7 separate regions of the Homo sapiens genome follow, and all the other regions are linked to region 1. Evidence: promoter capture Hi-C in human tissues and cell types (Jung and others, 2019). All regions are on one chromosome and are shown on one strand. The core of a region is centred on a gene start or on the middle of the fragment in contact, and the rest is flanking DNA. Distances in the headings are between cores, read along the strand shown.

Region 1 (2,700 bases), core at 170-2,669:
GCCCCATTAAGGCACCCGCCCTGCTATCCCCAGCGTAGCCAAAGTTAAACGTAGAAAAAGATGGAAATGTACAAATTACACCACATTCATTTTTCACTGGTGCATTAGTTAATTAGCCTGAAGAATAATTTGGGCATGGAGGGAGCTCTTACCCCTACAGTAGAAGGTAGACCTTCTAACCATAAGTCGTCGGGTTTTCCTTCTCCCTTCTTAGAATGATAATTAGAGGAAACAAAGAGGTCAGAGGAAACGAGTAGCAGTGATAATGTCACCCGCGTACTAATAAGCACCAATCTTCCTTCCGCCAAAAGTATTCTTTTTCTTCTAAAAGGAATTTCTGAGAATGAAGGTAGGTCAAGGCCTATGGCGATAAGTGGTTGCTTTAGAAGAGACAAAAACAGATATAGGAATTTATTATTAAAGTATCATTTAAGCAAAAAATAAAAGTATGAGCGCAAAATTTTAAAATCTTTCAGGGAAAAAAAATGAGCGGAATTCCCTCTAAGAGTTAACTCTTTCTCGCTCTGCCTTTTTAGAGCAAAGGAAGTTCCAGTGGGCTGGGAGTAAGGGACAGATTGTGGACCCTGACGAAAGGCGTGCTGGAGAAAGCTGGGAGCCCGCCGTTCGCACACAAAGCTGCGGAGTTCCCAAGCGGCGGGCGTTCTCGCCCCGGGGTACCGCAGCGCGCCAGGAAGCGCCCTGGGCTCTCTGGCTGTCCAGCCGCTCTGCTGGTGGCCGGGAGAAGTTAGTCACCCGGAGCCCGAATCCGGCGAGCGTCAAAGCATCAAGAGGCTGGAGAATGGGGAGGGAGGAAACCGGGTGCCGGGACGGAGGGGAGGAAGCGAAGGGAACGCGGTGGTTAGGGGACGCACGGGAAGCTGAAAAGCTCTGGCTGGTGGATGGAGTTGCACGGTCTGCGAGGCCAGAGCGCACGGGTGTGCAAAGGGGAAAAACTTGCGGCAGGAACTTCCCACCGAGGGCGAGAAAAGCAGGCAAGAAGGAGGCAGGGAGAGACTTGAAACGTCTCAATAACTTTAACCAAAACACCCGTTCAGGAGATGAGGTAAGCCAAGGTTAGCCAACCCCAATTGGTTGTGAAATATCAGACAGACCCGGAGCCGCTGTGGCTTTAAAAGTGGCCAAGGAAATCTGTTTTTCTTGCCCCATTACTTTTTATTTTCCCCTCTCCCCTCCTACCACCTCGCCGGGTCCCAGTCCCTTCCTCCTACTTCGTCTCCCTTTCCTCGATCACCCTCCTCTTTTGCCCTCCCCCATCTGATTAGGCGCGGACTGGGAAGGGTGGGAGTGGTGGGGGAAGCTCTCCCTTTAAGAGGCAGCGTGCAGTGACGAACTGTTGAAATTGCCATTGCAGGATGGCATGCCGCTATAAATTCATTGTTCCACCTCCTCGCATCTTCACAGCGCTCGCGCTGCTCTCGGCGCTCGCAGCTGCCGACTGGGGATGACGGCGGGCAGGAGGAGACCGCAGCCGAAGGGACACAGACACGCCGCTTCACCAGCTCGCCTCAGGCTGCCCCCCTGCATTTTTGTTTTAATTTTTACGGCTTTTTCCCCTCTCTTTCTTCCCTTCCTCCTGGTCCCAGCAGAGCCAAGGAAACCCACAAAATAAGAAAGGAAGTGGGCCCCGGAGCTTGGAACCTCCACAGCCGGCTTGTCCAGCGCAGCGCGGGGGCGGGAGGCTGCGCGCACCAGTTGCCAGCCCGGTGCGCGGTACCTTTCCTTACTTTTCTTGAAACAGCGATCGTGCCTGCATTTGGTGGTTTTTTGGTTTTTGTTTTTTTCCTTTTCCCGTATTTGCTGAATCTCCACTATCCGACTTTTTTTTTTTAATCTTTTCTTTCCCCCCCCCCCCACCCCACCTCTTTCTGGAGCACGAATCCAAACATTTTCCCAAGCAACAAAGAAAAGTTCGCACGCTGGCACCGCAGCCCGGACAGGCTGGCGCTGCTGCCGGGCCCCCCTCCCTCCGACACTTGACTCAATCCTGCAAGCAAGTGTGTGTGTGTCCCCATCCCCCGCCCCGTTAACTTCATAGCAAATAACAAATACCCATAAAGTCCCAGTCGCGCAGCCCCTCCCCGCGGGCAGCGCACTATGCTGCTCGGGTGGGCGTCCCTGCTGCTGTGCGCGTTCCGCCTGCCCCTGGCCGCGGTCGGCCCCGCCGCGACACCTGCCCAGGATAAAGCCGGGCAGCCTCCGACTGCTGCAGCAGCCGCCCAGCCCCGCCGGCGGCAGGGGGAGGAGGTGCAGGAGCGAGCCGAGCCTCCCGGCCACCCGCACCCCCTGGCGCAGCGGCGCAGGAGCAAGGGGCTGGTGCAGAACATCGACCAACTCTACTCCGGCGGCGGCAAGGTGGGCTACCTCGTCTACGCGGGCGGCCGGAGGTTCCTCTTGGACCTGGAGCGAGATGGTTCGGTGGGCATTGCTGGCTTCGTGCCCGCAGGAGGCGGGACGAGTGCGCCCTGGCGCCACCGGAGCCACTGCTTCTATCGGGGCACAGTGGACGGTAGTCCCCGCTCTCTGGCTGTCTTTGACCTCTGTGGGGGTCTCGACGGCTTCTTCGCGGTCAAGCACGCGCGCTACACCCTAAAGCCACTGCTGCGCGGACCCTGGGCGGAGGAAGAAAAGGGGCGCGTGTACGGGGATGGGTCCGCACGGATCCTGCACGTCTACACCCGC
Region 2 (2,700 bases), core at 190-2,689, 420 kb before region 1:
CTGGTGCTTCCGATCCCACTTTCAGACCTGACCATCCCATTCTCAAGAGCTGTGTCAGGGATTTTAGCTTTTCCTCTTGCAGCTTTATTGTTTTAAGACCTGCTCCTCACCTTTAAGCAAACATTTCCACATCCTGCCTAATGTAGACACGCCTTTAGAGATAATAACTGGAAATTACAGTTATTTTGTGTCATCAGTCTTGGTGTTTGAGATATCAACTTATAAAATTTTAGGATACAATAGCCAAAAAATGTTAAATGTAATTATCATTGGTAGCTATATGCAAATTTTTAAACAGAATATAAATTTTATTTAAAATATAATAAAATAGGAATTATTTAGATTAATTGTTCTTAAATAGGTTTTTAAACAATTGTATTATATAATTGGTGAATTAGACTACACGATTATTAAAATTATAAAGGCATCTTATTAAATGACATTTCAGCCAAAGAAGGCAGAAAATAAATGGTTACTGAAAATGTGTCAGACATAGCGATAGCTTCCAAGCTAAATTCTTCATTAAGAATAAGTTTAACTTACACTATTTTCAAGTTCAAATAAAGTACTTGTTAGCTACTAATGGACAGAAGATTGATTTGAACTCAGAAGTCTGTGGGCCCAAAATACGTACATCTTCCACTGTTACTTTTGAAGATTATTTTTAACACAATGCAGCAAGTAGAACATTTCTGAAAATCAATTTGGTATCAATTTGATCTTAAGGTGTGTCTAATATGCTGAAGGAATATTCCTCTTCTGGAACCCTCTAAACACTGTATTGTACTAATACTTGAAAAAGAAAACCAGGGTTCCCACTTGACTCTATTATTAATTTGCTGTGCTATCTTGGGAATACAACTTATTCACTAAGGACCCCTTCTGTGTATTACTAAAGAAGCAAAATTAATGTACTCAGTTTTACAATTAAATTTTTATTTGTTAATAAATACTATATAACTATAATACTATATAATAATACTATATAACTATATATACTATATACTATATATACTAATAATACTATATAACTATAGTATTATTATGCTCATATTTTGGTTTAAGCATTAGAGTAAGAGAGAAAATGTATTTACATTTCTGTAAAACAGATTTTCTTACACAGAAAACCTATATCTAAACTGAGACTCTTCTTCAGTGACCAAGAAAAATAAAGGTTTGCATATAAGGACATGAGTGTGATAATTATCCTAGCTAATTAGCAACCCTAAGTTGGGTAGATGGTAGATGGCAAGTTCTGATGAAAGGTGATCAAAGCATAGGTCTAACAGATTGGAAACTTATAAATTTAATTGATAAACTTTCCTTTTCAAACATAAAATAATTATTTAATTTTTTTAAATATGACAATCTACTTGATCACTATATGGGAAGCCATCCCATACTCACATTGATATCTTTGTGGATTCATCTCAGATGTATGTAGGGAGGCATCTTCCATTTCTTGATCCTAGCGGTCCCTGTTAATCTTGTTTACCTGTTACCCGAGTTTTGCACAATAAAGGGCATATGTTGATTGCCTTTTCCCACTCAAGTTGATATTTTCCTGGCTCTTCAAATTCTGAGTAATTTTGATTTGTGTCCTAAACAATAGATATTTGAATGGTATCAGATTACTCATTAGAAAATGTCAAGACCAGAAGGAAATGGAACAATATTTTCCCAGCTTTATTGAGCTATAATTGACAATAAAAATTGTTTACATTTAAGATATATATAATGTTTTGATGTCCATACACATTGTGAAATGATGACCACAATCAACTTAATTAACGTATCTATCACTTTACATAGTTACCTACTTTCTGGGGGGGAGCAATATTTTTAAGTTCTAAAAGGAAAGATTATCAACCCAGACTTTATCTATGTAGTGAAACTATCTTTAAAAAATGAAAGTTAAATAATGAAATTAAGAAAATTAATTGCTAGCAGATCTTTACAAAGAGAATCATTAAAGGACTTTTTGTTGTTGCTGTTGAGACGGTGTTTTGCTCTTGTTGCCCAGGTTGGAGTGCAACGGCGCAATCTCGGCCCACTGCAACCTCCACCTCCCAGGTTCAAGCGATTCTTCCCCCTCAGCCTCCTTAGTAGCTGGGATTACAGGCGCATGCCACCACGACCAGCTAATTTTTTGTATTTTTAGTAGAGACAGGGTTTCGCCATGTTGGCCAGGCTGGTCTTGAACTTCTGACCTCAGGTGGTCCACCCACCTCGGCCTCCCAAAGTGCTGGGATCACAGGCAAGAGCCACCGCGCCCAGCCTTCAAAGACCTTTAGACAGAATACCAGAGGGAAATTTGAAACGTTAGTAATGAAAGTAGAGCAACATAAATGGTACTATTGAGTAAATGTTATAGACTATCATTTTCCTCTGGAGTGTTTAAAACATGTTTGAGAGTGGAAAGAAAATTATAACATTGTTGATAGTATTTTAGTTCTACGTAGTTGTAATACGTAAGACAACTCAAAATAAAGGAGGATAGAGACCCAAAGGCTGGTAAGCTTTCTGAATTCCACATGCAGTGGTGAAATACTGATTTTAGTTGGGCATTACAAATATAAGTATAATGTATATTTGTTATAGTAGGAGTTAGACATGAGCAGGGCAAGAGAAGCACCCCTGTGTCCCCACCAGGAATGTCAGGGAACCATTAGATGATGGGCAGGTGGTATTTACACTGGT
Region 3 (2,700 bases), core at 107-2,606, 350 kb before region 1:
GCCCAGATATATCTCCAGGAATTTGGAGTACCCACTCTTCTTGATGTTGTGTTTAGGCCATACTCCCCTACCTGTGCAGAAAACTTGGGGCAGTGGAGGTTTTCCAACTCCATGCCTAGGCACACTTCTGGGCATTTGGTGGCTGTGCACTAGAATCCCCCAACACAGCTGGTGCTTGTGCCTGCCATTATGAGACATGAGGCAGGCCTGTCCAGTCGGGCCCTGCCTACCTTGGTCCCCCACTCTGGAGATAAGTAGGGAGCTCAGAACCCTGTGAATTCCACAGTTCAACCCATTGTCTTGGGTAACACAGAGCTTCCCATAGTAAACAAGGATCAAGTATTAGTGTATACCCATCCCGATTGGCTGCAGCCAGTTCTAACACTACAGCACCACCCACTGGCATGGAGGTTGAACCCCACAAAACAAGAGGAAATCTGCTGACACAAATGCATAGCTCTGGAAAATGTGATAAGCTTCCTGAGCCTACTCACATGCCTAACACATTGCTACTACAACAAACATTTGAGAAAGCCACCATAGAAAGGCTTCAATAACTAAGGAGTTTTTCCAGACTCTTTACCACTGAAAACTCCCAGAAACAAAGTAAAAGGACCTTATACAACATCATACATTGTAGACACCTCCTCAAGAAGGGAAAAAGTCCTTTCCAAAGTAAAGCAAAATCAAAAAATATGAAGGAGAGACAGCTTATCCAGATGTAAAAGAACAAGAGAAAAAACTCCAAAAGTATAGGAAAAAACAGTGTTACAACACCCCCAAAGTGAAGCAGTAACTCTCTAGCAATGGATCTCAAACAAAATGAAATCTTTGAAATAACAGATAAAGAATTCAAAATACTGATTTTAAAGAAAATAATTGAGATCCAAGAGAAAACTAAAACCAACATAAAGAAATCAGAGAAAAAATTCAGGACATGGAAAAGGAGACAGGCATCGTTAAAAAATAAAAAGAATTTCTAGAAGTAAAAAAAATTTTGAAATAGTTACAAAATACAGCTGAAAATTTTAACAATAGGCTAGACCAAGTGGAAGAAGAATTATAGAGTTAGAAGACAGGTCTTTCAAATTAACAGTGAGAAACAATTTAAAAAAATTTTAAATAAACAAAGACTTCAGGATATATGAGATTATGTAAAACATCCAAACCTACAAGTTATACATAATTACATAATGACAGAGGAAGAAGAAAACAAAGAAGAAGAAGAATGTATGAAAAACCTATTTGAGGAAATAATTTAAGAAAACTTCCCTAGTCTTGGGACAGATTTAGACATTCAGATACCAGAAGCTCAGAGAATTCCTAGAGATACATTGCAAGAACTTCACCAATGTATATAGTCATCAGACTATCCAAAGTCAATGAGAGGGGAAAAAAAACACTCTAAGAGCATCAAGAGAGGGGTCTAATCATTTTGAAATCCTATTATACTAACAGCAGAAATCTCAGCAGAAACCCTATAATCCAGAAGACATTAAGAGCCTATTTTTAGCCCACTTAAAGAAACAAAAAAGCCAGCCAGGAATTTTGTGTTCTGCCAAACTAAGCTTCATAAATTAAGGAGAAATATAACCTTTCCCCGACAAAGAAACACCAAGGGAATTTGTCACCACTAGACCAGACCACCAACAAATGTGCAGTCTACACATGGAAATGAAAGAATGACCCACACCATCATAAAAGATGACAGAAATACAAAGCTCACAGATAACATAAAGCAACTACACAATGAAACCACAAGGCAACTAGCTAACAACACTATGATAAACATAAAATCTCACCTATCAACATTATCCTTGAATATAAATGACTTGAATGCTCTACTCTAAAAACATAGAGTGGAAACTGTAAAAAACAAAACAAAAGAAGACAAAACAAAGAAAACAAACAAAAATTCCAGAACTCAACCATCTGCTGCATGTAAGAGGCTCACTTACTGGCTAAAGGCAGCTGCAGACTCAAAGTAAATTAGAAGAAAAAAGATATATAAACAGAAAACAAAAGTGAGCAGGAGTAGCCACTCTTATTTCAGATTAAACAGGCTTTAAACCAACAACAGAAAAATAAGACAAAGAAGGGTATTATATAATGATAAAGGGTTCAATACAACAAGAAAATTTAAATATCTTAAATACATATGTACCCAACCCCAGAGCACCCAGGTTCATGAAGCAAATACTACTACATCTAAGAAAACACTATTGTATTGATAGGAATACAATAAGGGAGGACTTTAACATCCCAATGACATCACTAGACAGAACATTGAGGCAGAACATCAACAAAGAAACTATGGATTAAACTGTACTATAGACCAAATGGACCTAATAGACATTTAAATAACATTCTATCCAACAACCACAGAATATACATTCTTCCCACCTCCACAAGGAACATTCTCAAAAATCAACCATATATTTGGGCCATAAAGCAAGTACCAATAAATTTTCAAAAAATCTAAATCATATTAAGTATCTTCCTCAACCACAGTTTAATAAAATTAGAAATTAATACTAAGAGGAAGTTTCAAAACTACACAAGTGCAAGGAAGGTTGCTCCTGAATGACTTTTCTGCAAACAATGAAGTTAAGACAGAAATAAAAAAATTCCTTGAAGTGAATGAAAATAGAGACAACAACATACCAAAACTTCTGAGATACACCAAAAGAAGTACTAAGA
Region 4 (2,700 bases), core at 127-2,626, 460 kb before region 1:
ACAGCAGGACTAGAAAACTAATAAAGGCAGACAGTTGAACACAGATATGCACACGCTCACACACACATATTTTTTAACACTTCAAATTAAGGAATATTGATGCTTAATTGCGGTGGCAACTTGACCTTTGAGCTCCCAAAGCAGACAAATTAGGCACACCTAAATTGCAAGCCTAAATCTTAAAATGAACAAGTATCTTAAATATACCACTTAATATTCTGTATGTTCCCCATCTCTCTTCACTCATAAACACAAAGCAAGAGTAGGTACACAGTAAAAGAAGAAATTTGTACAATTTCTCCTCTTTTATTTATTTAAAGAGTTTTTAAGAGGAAACAAAATATATACAAATAAATAACTTGATAGTGACTTTTAAAACCATGGCACATAGCATCATTAAAAGCATCCTTGAAAGCCTTAACCACGGTGTCATGGTGTAAAATTATTTATGTGCATTTTTACCTCTTCTCCCTTGGGTATCATCTTCTCCTAATCTGGGAACATGGCACATGCAAAGAGCATTTTACCAGGAAAATCAAAGCTCTGAAAATGTGCAATGGAAAAGAAAACATCTTGGAATTGCTTTTATTTTAGTGCTGTGATAAAAAATTTTTTCCAGTCACCCTCATTGATGTTCAGATGATTGAATTAAGTTGAGACATTCTGGTCAGGAGGTGAAAACAACCATGGGTGTTATTGGCTCCCATCGGAAAGTTCACTGTCCCAACATTACATGATCCCTGAGTCAAGCCCAAAACATGCGCCACGCCGTCCCTGTAGCTCAGAGCTCACCAGCTGACCACAGCTGGAATTTGTAGGCCAGTAGAAAGCAGGGAAAAGGAGGTAGGCACTGAGCTGTTTTGTAGCCTGGAGGAGGCCTGCAGTTGCCAAGGATAATAGCATGGCAAACACTTTGCTACTGACAGCCTGGATTCAACTTTCTCACCATAATTCTGCCAAGCAAGGCTGGTAAAAGTTCAGAAAGCACTACTAGGAATAATTAAAGCAATGGAGGATTTATTTTGTATGGAGAGATTAAAGGAATTTTACATGTGTTATTTGGCTGTGCAAACATGAAATGGGAATACGAAAATTATCAACAAATATTTGGATGGTTTAAATTATTGGGAGGGAGATGTGAACGTTAAATAATAAGGCATGATATTGTGCCACCATGCACCCAACCTAAGAGAAATACATTTGAAAAAAAACCATTTCAGATGAAAACTTATATAAAAAGGTACAAAGATTAAACACTATATTCCCATATTAAGGAAAAGATTAAAGGATATCATCAGAGTTTTCCAAGTCTTAGTCAGTCCCTCTGAGATAGGTGGCAGGATGTAAACACAGTGCTGTTTTTTAGACAGAAAGACTCCGTGTGTGTGCCTATGAATGCACTTAGCATTGTATCATGGGGTAAGCCAGAATGTATTTTTTTTTAACTTTTATTTTGAGGTAAAGCTGATTCATTGTGTCCATAAGACACTCATAAAACACTCTTGCCATTTCCAGACAAGCTGAAAGCTGGTACAGCATTAGCAAGTTACTGCTGAGAAAGAGATCATGTGTCCCTCAGAAGTGTGTGCTCCATCAATTCCCCCCAAACTAGGTGGCAAAGCAGATTCATTTTTCTCCTAATCATCTTGCTCCAGTGCGAAGTTCCTCATCCTTAGTGGGGAGTAACAGATATGCTGATGTAAAAAACGAACAGGCCAGTCACAGTGGCTCACACCTGTAATCCCAGCACTTTGGGAGGCTGAGATGGGTGAACCAATTGAGGTCAAGGAGTTCAAGACCAGCCTGGCCAACATGGTGAAACCCCATCTCTACCGAAAAAATACGAAAATTAGCCAGGTGTGGTGGTGGGCGCCTGTAGTCCCAGCTATTCAGGAGGCTGAGACAGGAGAATCCCTTGAACCCAGGAGGTGGAGGCTGTAGTGAGCTGAAATTGTGCCACTGCACTCCAGCCTGGGGCATAGAGCAAGATTCTGTCTCAAAAAAAAAAAAAGTGTTTTATTTTCCTTACTTTCCTACAACTTCCTCAGCATATAAAAGAATACACACAGTAACACTGGAAAGCCGAACAGTAGAGGGTCCCCACGACAGAGCAAAATTGCATGAGCTGAGGTCCACAACCAAGTTTTTACCTCTTCCCTCTCCTCCCATGGGTACCATTCCACTGGTTACATCATAAGACACTAGGGAATATGGTTGTTGTTTCCTTGGGTAATCTGTTCTCAAGAACTTGCAAAACGGACCTCAGATTAGCATGCCACCCATCATTTAAAAGCCAAGAAAAACAATAGTTGGCTTCCAAGTAAAGACAGGAAGATAAGAAAGAAATCAATTTTAAAATTTCAGTTAGGAGCAATAAGTTCAGGACTCAGTGATCATACTTAACAGCAATGTACTATGTGCCAAAAGGGTAGATTTTAAGTGCTGTCACCACAAAAATGGTAAGTGTGTGAGGAAATGGAATATGATAATTAGCCTGATTCTGCCATTCCATAGTGTCTAGATATATACCCAAGATATATGTTGGATATATATTGTACATGTTGTACAGCATAAATATATACAATTCAGCCGGGCGTGGTGGCTCAGGCCTGTAACCCCAGCACTTTGGGAGGCCGAGGCGGGCAGATCACGAGGTCAGGAGATCGAGACCATCCTGGCTAACACAGTGAAACCTTCTCT
Region 5 (2,700 bases), core at 197-2,696, 470 kb before region 1:
TGTTACATTTGCATTTCAGAAGATAGTGAAATGGGAGCATTCCCCCTTTAAGGACAGGGGTGTGGCTGGCATGTTTAGTCACCTACTGCTTAAATCCTTGGTGGGAGGGGGATCATGGAGACAGGCAGAGGCTGGGGGTGAGTGCTTTGGGGTCTAGCCCCAAGGTAATGTCTACGAGTGGGTGCCTACAACCCCAAAGCTCTTTCAGCTTTGCCACCCACAGACAGCTTGAGTATTAATCAACTCAATGGACCCTCTGCCCTTACAAAAGGGCAGAGGGCCACTGTGAAAGCTTTCTGTATCCTGAGCTTTTGTGCATTATCCCAGAAAAAATCAGGTCACACTCGGGCTTGAAGGATAAATGTGAGATTTTGAGTGATGGAGGTGGCTTTCAGTAGGATGGAGGGGGAGCTGGAAGGTGGGGATCAAGTGAGAAGGTGGTCTTCACCTGGAGGTGGCTTTTGATGGGATAGATGGGGAGATGGAAGGTGGGGGATGGAGTGAAAAGGTGGTCTTCCCCTGGAAGAGGGTCACCCAGCAGCTGGATTCCTCTCCAACCACCCCCAGTCGAACTCCTCTTGGCATTCAAATGTTCCTCCTCTTCTCTCTTTCTCTGCCACATCATTCTGCTGTCCGTCCATCTGCTGATCTGCTGGCTTGCCTGGGTTTCAGGGATTATATGGGTGCAGGGTAGGGGGTATGGCAGGCCAAAAGGCAACTTTTGGGGCATGAAAACAGAAATGCCTGTCCTCATTTAGGGACTTGGGTCTTCAGGCTGGAGGGTAGGGCCTTTTCCAGGGAACAGCTCTCTTCTACACAGTATTTCCCTGTCTCCTGTGCATATCAATAGGGCAAATGTTCAGATTTCAGTTAGAATTAAATCTTTGCCTATATGTATTTCATTCCCAATTCATTTATTGAATTTATTTTAACTCATAATAAAAATTTTAAAGTCTATATTTATAGTCTAATTTTAATTAAAAACATCTACTTCTGTTTTATCATCAAGCTGCTAATTGGCCAGTTTATGATTGGGCAATGACAAACTTTAAGTTTTAGTATATTTAGGGAACTATGGTAAGAACGTTAGCAAATAACACTAAATATTATGTGATTTAATAATATTATTTAATCCTCGAAATCACTGTATGAAATAGGTTATATCATTTGTTTATTGTACAAATGACAAAATTAAGGAGCAGAAAGCTGGAATTTATCTCACCTAAACCAGACAACACAGTTGTTCCTTTGCTTTTGAAGGTTAACAAAAGCATAAAACCTTCCTAACTAAGCAAAAAACATGTAACTAGGAAACAGTTTAACTACTTTTAATATGTTTAAATATCACATTTAAAATTTTTGAAGAAAATAAATAACAGGCAATTCTGTTGGTCATTATTAGACTTATAAGTAGTTTCAAATGCTTCCAATACATTCAGCTTTAAAGCCTAAAAGGAAATTCTCTTGGACAGATTCCGGCTAAAGAGAAGGTAATGAAGTCATTAAACAAATTAACCAAACAAGTAAATAAACAACAAAAAACAGCACAATTTTAAAACATCTTCATATAGAATACATAGAACATTTTCATGTATTCATTGAACCAGTCTTTCATTCAACCAAACTATATTGAGTTCCCAGTAGAACTTAGTTCAGTTGTAGACCTTGGAATTACATTGACCAATAATGTAAGGAAAATGGTGACCCTCAAGGGAATATTGATACAATGTAGTAAATCAGTTCTAACTCTAAACATCTAAACATCTCTGACAATTATGCTTTCCCTTTTCTTCTCTGGATACTTGAAGCACATGCACAGAAAAAATAGCAAATGAGCGTGTTAACTGAGTCTTTAAAGAATACCCCATGTAAAAGTATTCTAGAAATCACATCGCAGTACATGACATAAGCCCCCAAATGTAGCAATGCTTCTTTTCTCCACATTCACAACCATAAGGCTACTATTGGCAATTCTGAAAAAAATGCAGTATGAAGCTTGAAAATGTAGGAAAAAAAGAGGTAGCTTTTTCTTGGGAGGGGAGTACAAACTTGTCTGAATAGACTCCACCCACATGTCCTGAAGTCTGAACAACCATATCAGCATCTGTATCCTGAAGAAAGACGAACTGAGAAAGAGGAGAGGAGAAGGCTACAGGCTGAGGGTGTTCTATGCACCATGCCTTGGGAGCCAAGTGCAAAGTCTCATATCTAGACTGGAAGGGTGTCCAGTTGGTAAAAGTTACAGGCAGAAGTGATATATGAATTGAGTTTTGAGATAAAAATGGGCTAGATAAACCATCCATGGATTGATGAGAAGGGAATAGCAGTCAGAAGGGGGCTAATTATCCATGGTCAGATCACAAAATACAAGGAATGTGTAACTAGAGATAAAGCAGGAGAGATAAGCTAAAAATGCACAATAAACAACTTTATATTAGAGAGTTTCAAGCATTTGCTGGTTGTACTGTCATTGAAGGAATTTAAGAACAAGAGTAACATGAGTCAAAGTATTTTAATTTTATTACCTTTTACACCTATATATGTCGTTTTCTAAAAACACTTATGTATATAAAGTTATTTCTAAAATATATTTCAATTTATAATAATTTTTAAAATTTCTTCAAATATGATATTAGTCTCAAGAAAGTCAGTGTCATATTTCACCTTGATTTTTCAGCTATTCAGCATGATTATGAAGTA
Region 6 (2,700 bases), core at 110-2,609, 360 kb before region 1:
CCTAGATTTTCTCACTATAGCAAATCCAAATGCCATGATTCACCCCCATTTCAAAGCCTTTGTTCAAGATGTTTTTCATTACTCAAAATCTCATGCCCTGCCTCTCAAATGATTCCGCATATCATAATCCTAGCGATTAAGAGAAGTGGTGGTGAAACACTGGCTTTTCACTTATTTTGGAACACATGAAATTATTTTATTCATTTTGTGATGCTGCTTTAAAATTTAACATCATGCTGAGTAAATACAATACATATGCATATAGGATTTAACTTTCAACTTTGGACAGTTTTAGAATCTCTGCTGTACAATTGAACATAGATATTGCCATGTATATTTTTTAAGCAAACAAATTGGAATCTATAAAATAGTTTCCATCTAAAGAATTTCAAAGTAAATTTAACTGACCACAACATTTGTTGTCACAACCAGACAGGGTAAGAGCTTTGACTAGTTTAGTTCAATTATAAATAATATAGCTGTTACAACAATTTGAGAAACACTTTGTTTTTGCTCTGCCCATATTATTATTTCTTTAAATCAAACGTTTATCAAAGACATCAGTGGAAAGCATTTCAAATAACTAAATATTTTATATACGTACATCATCTTAAACTAAAGTGATGATTAAATGCTAGATTGTTTTTTAGAAAACTTGAAATGCTTTAAAAATTGTTTTAGAAAGCTTTAACAGTTATGTAAATATATTTTCTACCACCTTCTAAACTTACCCATATTTCTGAGATGTGGGTGTACGTATTTTGAGGAATACTAACTGCTACCTACATATGCCCTCTGCCAATAATCTCATCTTTGAGTATACAAATTTATAGGACTCTGAACACGGCTTCAAAGCTCCTTTATTTTCTGTATTTCAAATTAAAAAGTGACTACACTATTCTAAACCATTCATAACAACTATGGCAGCTTTTATTATTATTATTTTTATTATTATTTTTAAGCAGAAACATGAGTCAGTCTGACAATAACCATAGACGAATGAGGTAAGCCTGACATTTATTTAGTAACATTACTGAAGAAAGACTAGCAATGGCACTTTTCATCTGACAAAGATGTTTCATTTTTTGTTTTTGTTTTTATTTTTTACAACATCTGTGCAAGAACCTCCAACAGTGAGAGGTTTAATTATGTGAACTGTAATATGTCTTCTAAGATTGTTATTCTCTGATTGTACTGAAATTCTTTTAAAACAAATCACAGCACAAAAGAACCAAACACACACACAACACACACATACACAACACATAAGATTAACAAGCATATATATTCTTCATCTGTATGTTATTTTAACTACTGTGGAAGTAAAGTTCTTTCCAGAAAACACACAATCAAAAGAACAATGCTAGAATTTCTTCCAATGAATTCAGTATTCTAATAACAAATCTAAAGAGGCTCTATTAAGTTTTTCTTAATATTAAGGGTCTATTAAGAAGTCTGTTAAGGCCGGGCTCGGTGGCTCACGCCTGTAATCTCAGCACTTTGGGAGGCCACGGCGGGTGGATCATGAGGTCAGGAGATCAAGACCATCCTGGCTAACACGGTGAAACCCCGTCTCTACTAAAAATACAAAAAAATAAGCTGGGCGAGGTGGTGTGCGCCTGTAGTCCCAGCTGCTGGGGAGGCTGAGGCAGGAGAATGGCGTGAACCCGGGAGGCAGAGCTTGCAGTGAGCCCAGATCGCGCCACTGCACTCCAGTCTTGACAAAGCAAGACTCCGTCTCAAAAAAAAAAAAAAAAAAAAAAAAAAAAGAAGTCTATTAAGATAGTTTTTCAGAACACAATACATAAAAATAGAGTGCACATTATTGCATGCACACACATGCACATATTCACTCTCATACCAAAAGTCTTCAGCGATCACATCATGGTGTGTGTGTGTAGTTTTCTCTGCCTTGCAGTTTCAGTTTCATTATTTTACAATACATTCTGTTACGGAAGGAAGAACGTAATCTGGGTCATTGATGGAATGGAATAATCGTCATGTCAAACTAAAATGCATCATGCAATGTAAAGAAAGATGGCTTACTAACAGAAGGAAAGTGATGCAGCTTCCTTCCAATTAGATCCTAATGAAAAATGTAACATATGCAGTATTTTGGAGGATTTATTATGAGTTAATTAGAACATGTTGTGTAGGAACTAATAATGAATAACTCGAAAGGGTTTATAGTCACAGCTCTGTGAGTAGCTGTGAATACTAAAGTTCAGCAGCACTAATCTCAAAGGAAATAGTAGGAGAAGGAATCTAAGTTGTCATTGTGATGAAATAAAATAGTCGCAACTGCAGCTGGACCATTAACTAATATTGACTCTTGCTCTAGAAGCTGTCAGAGCTCTGCATTGAAACAGCTGGGAATGTTCTGTCAGGGAGCCACGGGAGAAACATTTTACTTGGGTTGAAATTCAAAACTTGATATTTGCTAAAAACATAAGAGCCATATGTTTACTCGTGAGTCAGACAAAACTAAACATAACTTTTTCAGTGTATTCTAGAATGTTTTCTTTTTTCTTTCATCACACATCTATTAAGCATTTACAAAGTGACAAGCACTGTACGTTCCCAAAAGTGCACAAATTACACACCAACCCTGCTGTTTTGGAAATTGCAATCTAGAAAACATCGAATTCATCATTTAAAGGTTTTTATAAGAATGGTGATTAAAAAAAAAAACAAAGCCTC
Region 7 (2,700 bases), core at 115-2,614, 510 kb before region 1:
ACCATGCATTGAGCCTCACCCATAACTTATTTAGATAAGACTCCAGACTTCAGATTTTTAAGTTGGCATCAGAATGGCTTTTTGGGCTATTGAGATGGAATAGCTGTGTTTTGTATTTGAAAAAAACATCAATTTGGGGAGCCAGGGTTGGAATGCTATGGTCAAAATTAGTCCCCCGAAATTCATGTGTTGGAAACAATCCCTAATGCAACAGTGTTGGGAGATAGGATCTTTTGGGAAGTGCTTAGTTCAAGAGGGCTCTTTGCTCATAAGTCAGTTAATTCCATTATAAAAGGGTTTAATGAAAGGAGTTTGCCCCTTTTCGCTTTTTGCCCTCCTGTCTTCTGCCATGTGAGGATATAACATTCCCCCATTTTCAAAAGACACAGCATTCAAGGTGCCATCTTGGAAGCAGAGACCAGATCATCATCAGATAAATGAACCTGCTGGCACCTGTGTCTTGGACTTCCCAGCCTCCAGAACACTGCGAAGATATACATTTCTCTTAAATTTCCCAGTTTGTGAAATTCTGTCTGGGAAGCACAAAATGAACTAAGACAATAGCTATAGTAACTATATAGATGCCTTACATGCTTTGCCCTTGAACAACATGAGGATTAGGAATACCAAACCCCATATGGTCAAAAATTCATGTATAAGTTTTGACTCCCCAAAAACCTAACTACTAATAGTCTACTGTTGACTAGAAGCCTATTGGTAACATAAACAGTTGATTAACATATATTTTGTATGCTGCGTGTATTTTATATTGTATTCTTACATTAAAGTAAGCTAAGAGAAAAATGTTGTTGAAAAAATCACGAGGAGAAAATATATTTACTATTCATTAAGTGGAAGTGGATTATCATAAAGGTCTTCATCCTCATCAACTTCATATTGAGTAGGCTGAGGAGGAGGCAGAAAATGGAGTAGTTGATCTTGCTGTATCAAGGGTGGCAGAGGTGAAAAAAAAATCCATGTATAAGTGGAGCTGTGCAGTTCAAACCTACCTTGTTCAAGGGTTTTGTCTTAAAATATGTCCAAGACATTGTTCTCTGTCAATGTTCTAAAAATAGATATTATTTTACTGACTGCAGTATTGTATGATTGAAGACTATTGAAACAATTTATTCCCTCATTAACTTGAAAATTGAAACAATTTATTCTCTCATTAACTTAAAAATTGAGACAATTTGTTCTTTCATTAACTTGTTACCCTTGAGTACTCCTTTGTCCTCAGTCTTAATAACAATGGAAAATGTCCCCTGTTTTAATCTTTAGTGACCTCATTGTAATATAATTCATAAACATAATGCAAAGTACTAAGATGCTTAGCCATACTGATTTTTTATTTCTTCCTGTGATTTACTAGTTCAGTTTCTTTAACCACCTTAGTGGATTACTTGCACTTTCCTAAATAATTCATAAAAGGGAGTTATTTATATTAAAGATATTGACTATTTGTACACAATGCAAAATTTTTCCTATTCTTGTCTTTTGCTTTCTTACTTGATTTGATATGGTTTGATAAGCAAACATTTTTAAACATTTAAATCTGTTGAACTACAATCCTTTCTCAGTTCAGTCTTTGGTATCATATTAAATAAGCCATGTAAGTTTGCATATGGTTTCAGTTTTATGTTTAGATCTTTAATCCAATTGGAATTTATTTTGTGTAAAAGTTGTGAAATAGGGATATATCTTTCCTGTCATGTCCTCCCAAGTGTATACTTAATTTTCACCATTCCACTTATTGAAAAATTCATGCTTTCCTCATTTTCGAAATGTCATTTTGGTATTTTATTAATTCTGATACACACAGCTGTATTTTTCAGAATTCTTAACTGGATTATTGTGAGCTATTTGTCATTCGTATCTTAGTATCACATTCTGTTATTATGATTGAATCTGGTAAAATAATTGCCCCCTTAGCCCCACAATTTTAATAAATATTCAAAACCCCACTCTATAGAAACCTCTAACTAGGGAGATACATTATATGTGCCTACTATGTGTCAAGGACTGTGTACAACTGAAACAGATTTGACTCATGAATTTTACACTCATGATAGGCTGTAGTACTTTATTTTACTCTTAAAAATAACAATAGCAGCTTCTCTTTTATACTTTTATAAAATCTTCTACTGATTTCAAAGCTTTTTTTTAATTAAGAAGAGAACCAATTTTAAAAATGCACTGTTTTTCTTAGATAATATCTAAAAGCCCAGAAGAAAAAGAAATTCTTCTTTTGTAGGCAACATGATTAGCCACTAGAGGAAGTAAGTGTTTTGCATTGCTGGGCAGCAGCATAGGAATTGACTTATGAAAGAAAATCACTGTTAACGTTTATTCTGCCTAGTAGAATGCCTGGCAGTTCTAGAAGAGAGGCTTTGAATTTACAATTTTGTAACTTAGTGATTGTATATAATGACAGGATTTAAATAACTATATTTGACTGAAAGTAGTTATTAGAAGTTCCTGATAGTACATGAAAGGAAAAAAATACTGTCATCTCAACTAGATCATATATCTTTAATTAACTAATTCATAAAAAATAATTCCAAATGTATTTTACTATAAACAATATATTACAATTAAAATGGAATTCTCTGGAGAGCTGATAACCAGAAAACTTGTTTTTGCCATAAAATGTCAAAAATAAGTTAAGAACTAAAGTGTTATTTTTTTAATTGTAAACAT

The links. Contacts are between HindIII fragments. The study calls those that stand out against the background at their distance.
Region 2: a contact is called between a fragment that was not itself captured here and the fragment with the promoter of ADAMTS5 in region 1, in 2 of the 25 tissues and cell types used here (IMR-90 fibroblasts and heart right ventricle).
Region 3: a contact is called between a fragment that was not itself captured here and the fragment with the promoter of ADAMTS5 in region 1, in 2 of the 25 tissues and cell types used here (dorsolateral prefrontal cortex and mesenchymal stem cells).
Region 4: a contact is called between a fragment that was not itself captured here and the fragment with the promoter of ADAMTS5 in region 1, in 1 of the 25 tissues and cell types used here (mesenchymal stem cells).
Region 5: a contact is called between a fragment that was not itself captured here and the fragment with the promoter of ADAMTS5 in region 1, in 1 of the 25 tissues and cell types used here (IMR-90 fibroblasts).
Region 6: a contact is called between a fragment that was not itself captured here and the fragment with the promoter of ADAMTS5 in region 1, in 3 of the 25 tissues and cell types used here (H1 embryonic stem cells, aorta and mesenchymal stem cells).
Region 7: a fragment that was not itself captured here is called in contact with the fragment with the promoter of ADAMTS5 in region 1 in 4 of the 25 tissues and cell types used here (heart left ventricle, heart right ventricle, lymphoblastoid cells and 1 more).

What each region holds. Positions count from the first base shown.
Region 1 is chr21:26,965,807-26,968,506 of GRCh38, reverse strand. ADAMTS5 (ADAM metallopeptidase with thrombospondin type 1 motif 5) reads left to right here and starts at 1,419. Exons shown (of 8, transcript NM_007038.5): 1 at 1,419-2,700. The coding sequence starts at 2,116. It overlaps LOC124905050, which reads left to right. Exons shown (of 3, transcript XM_047441063.1): 2 at 537-1,063; 3 at 1,423-1,851. The coding sequence ends at 1,851. The HindIII fragment of the contact is 10,779 bases long and covers 1-2,700 here.
Region 2 is chr21:27,386,368-27,389,067 of GRCh38, reverse strand. No RefSeq gene overlaps it. Among named protein-coding and RNA genes, the nearest start is that of LINC01673, 250 kb to the left of the region's middle. The HindIII fragment of the contact is 6,614 bases long and covers 1-2,700 here.
Region 3 is chr21:27,313,249-27,315,948 of GRCh38, reverse strand. The region is part of intron 1 of LOC102724355 (a long non-coding RNA gene); the gene reads left to right. Among named protein-coding and RNA genes, the nearest start is that of LINC01673, 320 kb to the left of the region's middle. The HindIII fragment of the contact is 4,104 bases long and covers 1-2,700 here.
Region 4 is chr21:27,421,365-27,424,064 of GRCh38, reverse strand. All of the region lies in intron 1 of LOC105372762 (a long non-coding RNA gene), which reads left to right. Among named protein-coding and RNA genes, the nearest start is that of LINC01673, 220 kb to the left of the region's middle. The HindIII fragment of the contact is 8,330 bases long and covers 1-2,700 here.
Region 5 is chr21:27,438,348-27,441,047 of GRCh38, reverse strand. All of the region lies in intron 1 of LOC105372762 (a long non-coding RNA gene), which reads left to right. Among named protein-coding and RNA genes, the nearest start is that of LINC01673, 200 kb to the left of the region's middle. The HindIII fragment of the contact is 3,372 bases long and covers 1-2,700 here.
Region 6 is chr21:27,329,311-27,332,010 of GRCh38, reverse strand. All of the region lies in intron 1 of LOC102724355 (a long non-coding RNA gene), which reads left to right. Among named protein-coding and RNA genes, the nearest start is that of LINC01673, 310 kb to the left of the region's middle. The HindIII fragment of the contact is 3,443 bases long and covers 1-2,700 here.
Region 7 is chr21:27,476,490-27,479,189 of GRCh38, reverse strand. No RefSeq gene overlaps it. Among named protein-coding and RNA genes, the nearest start is that of LINC01673, 160 kb to the left of the region's middle. The HindIII fragment of the contact is 7,074 bases long and covers 1-2,700 here.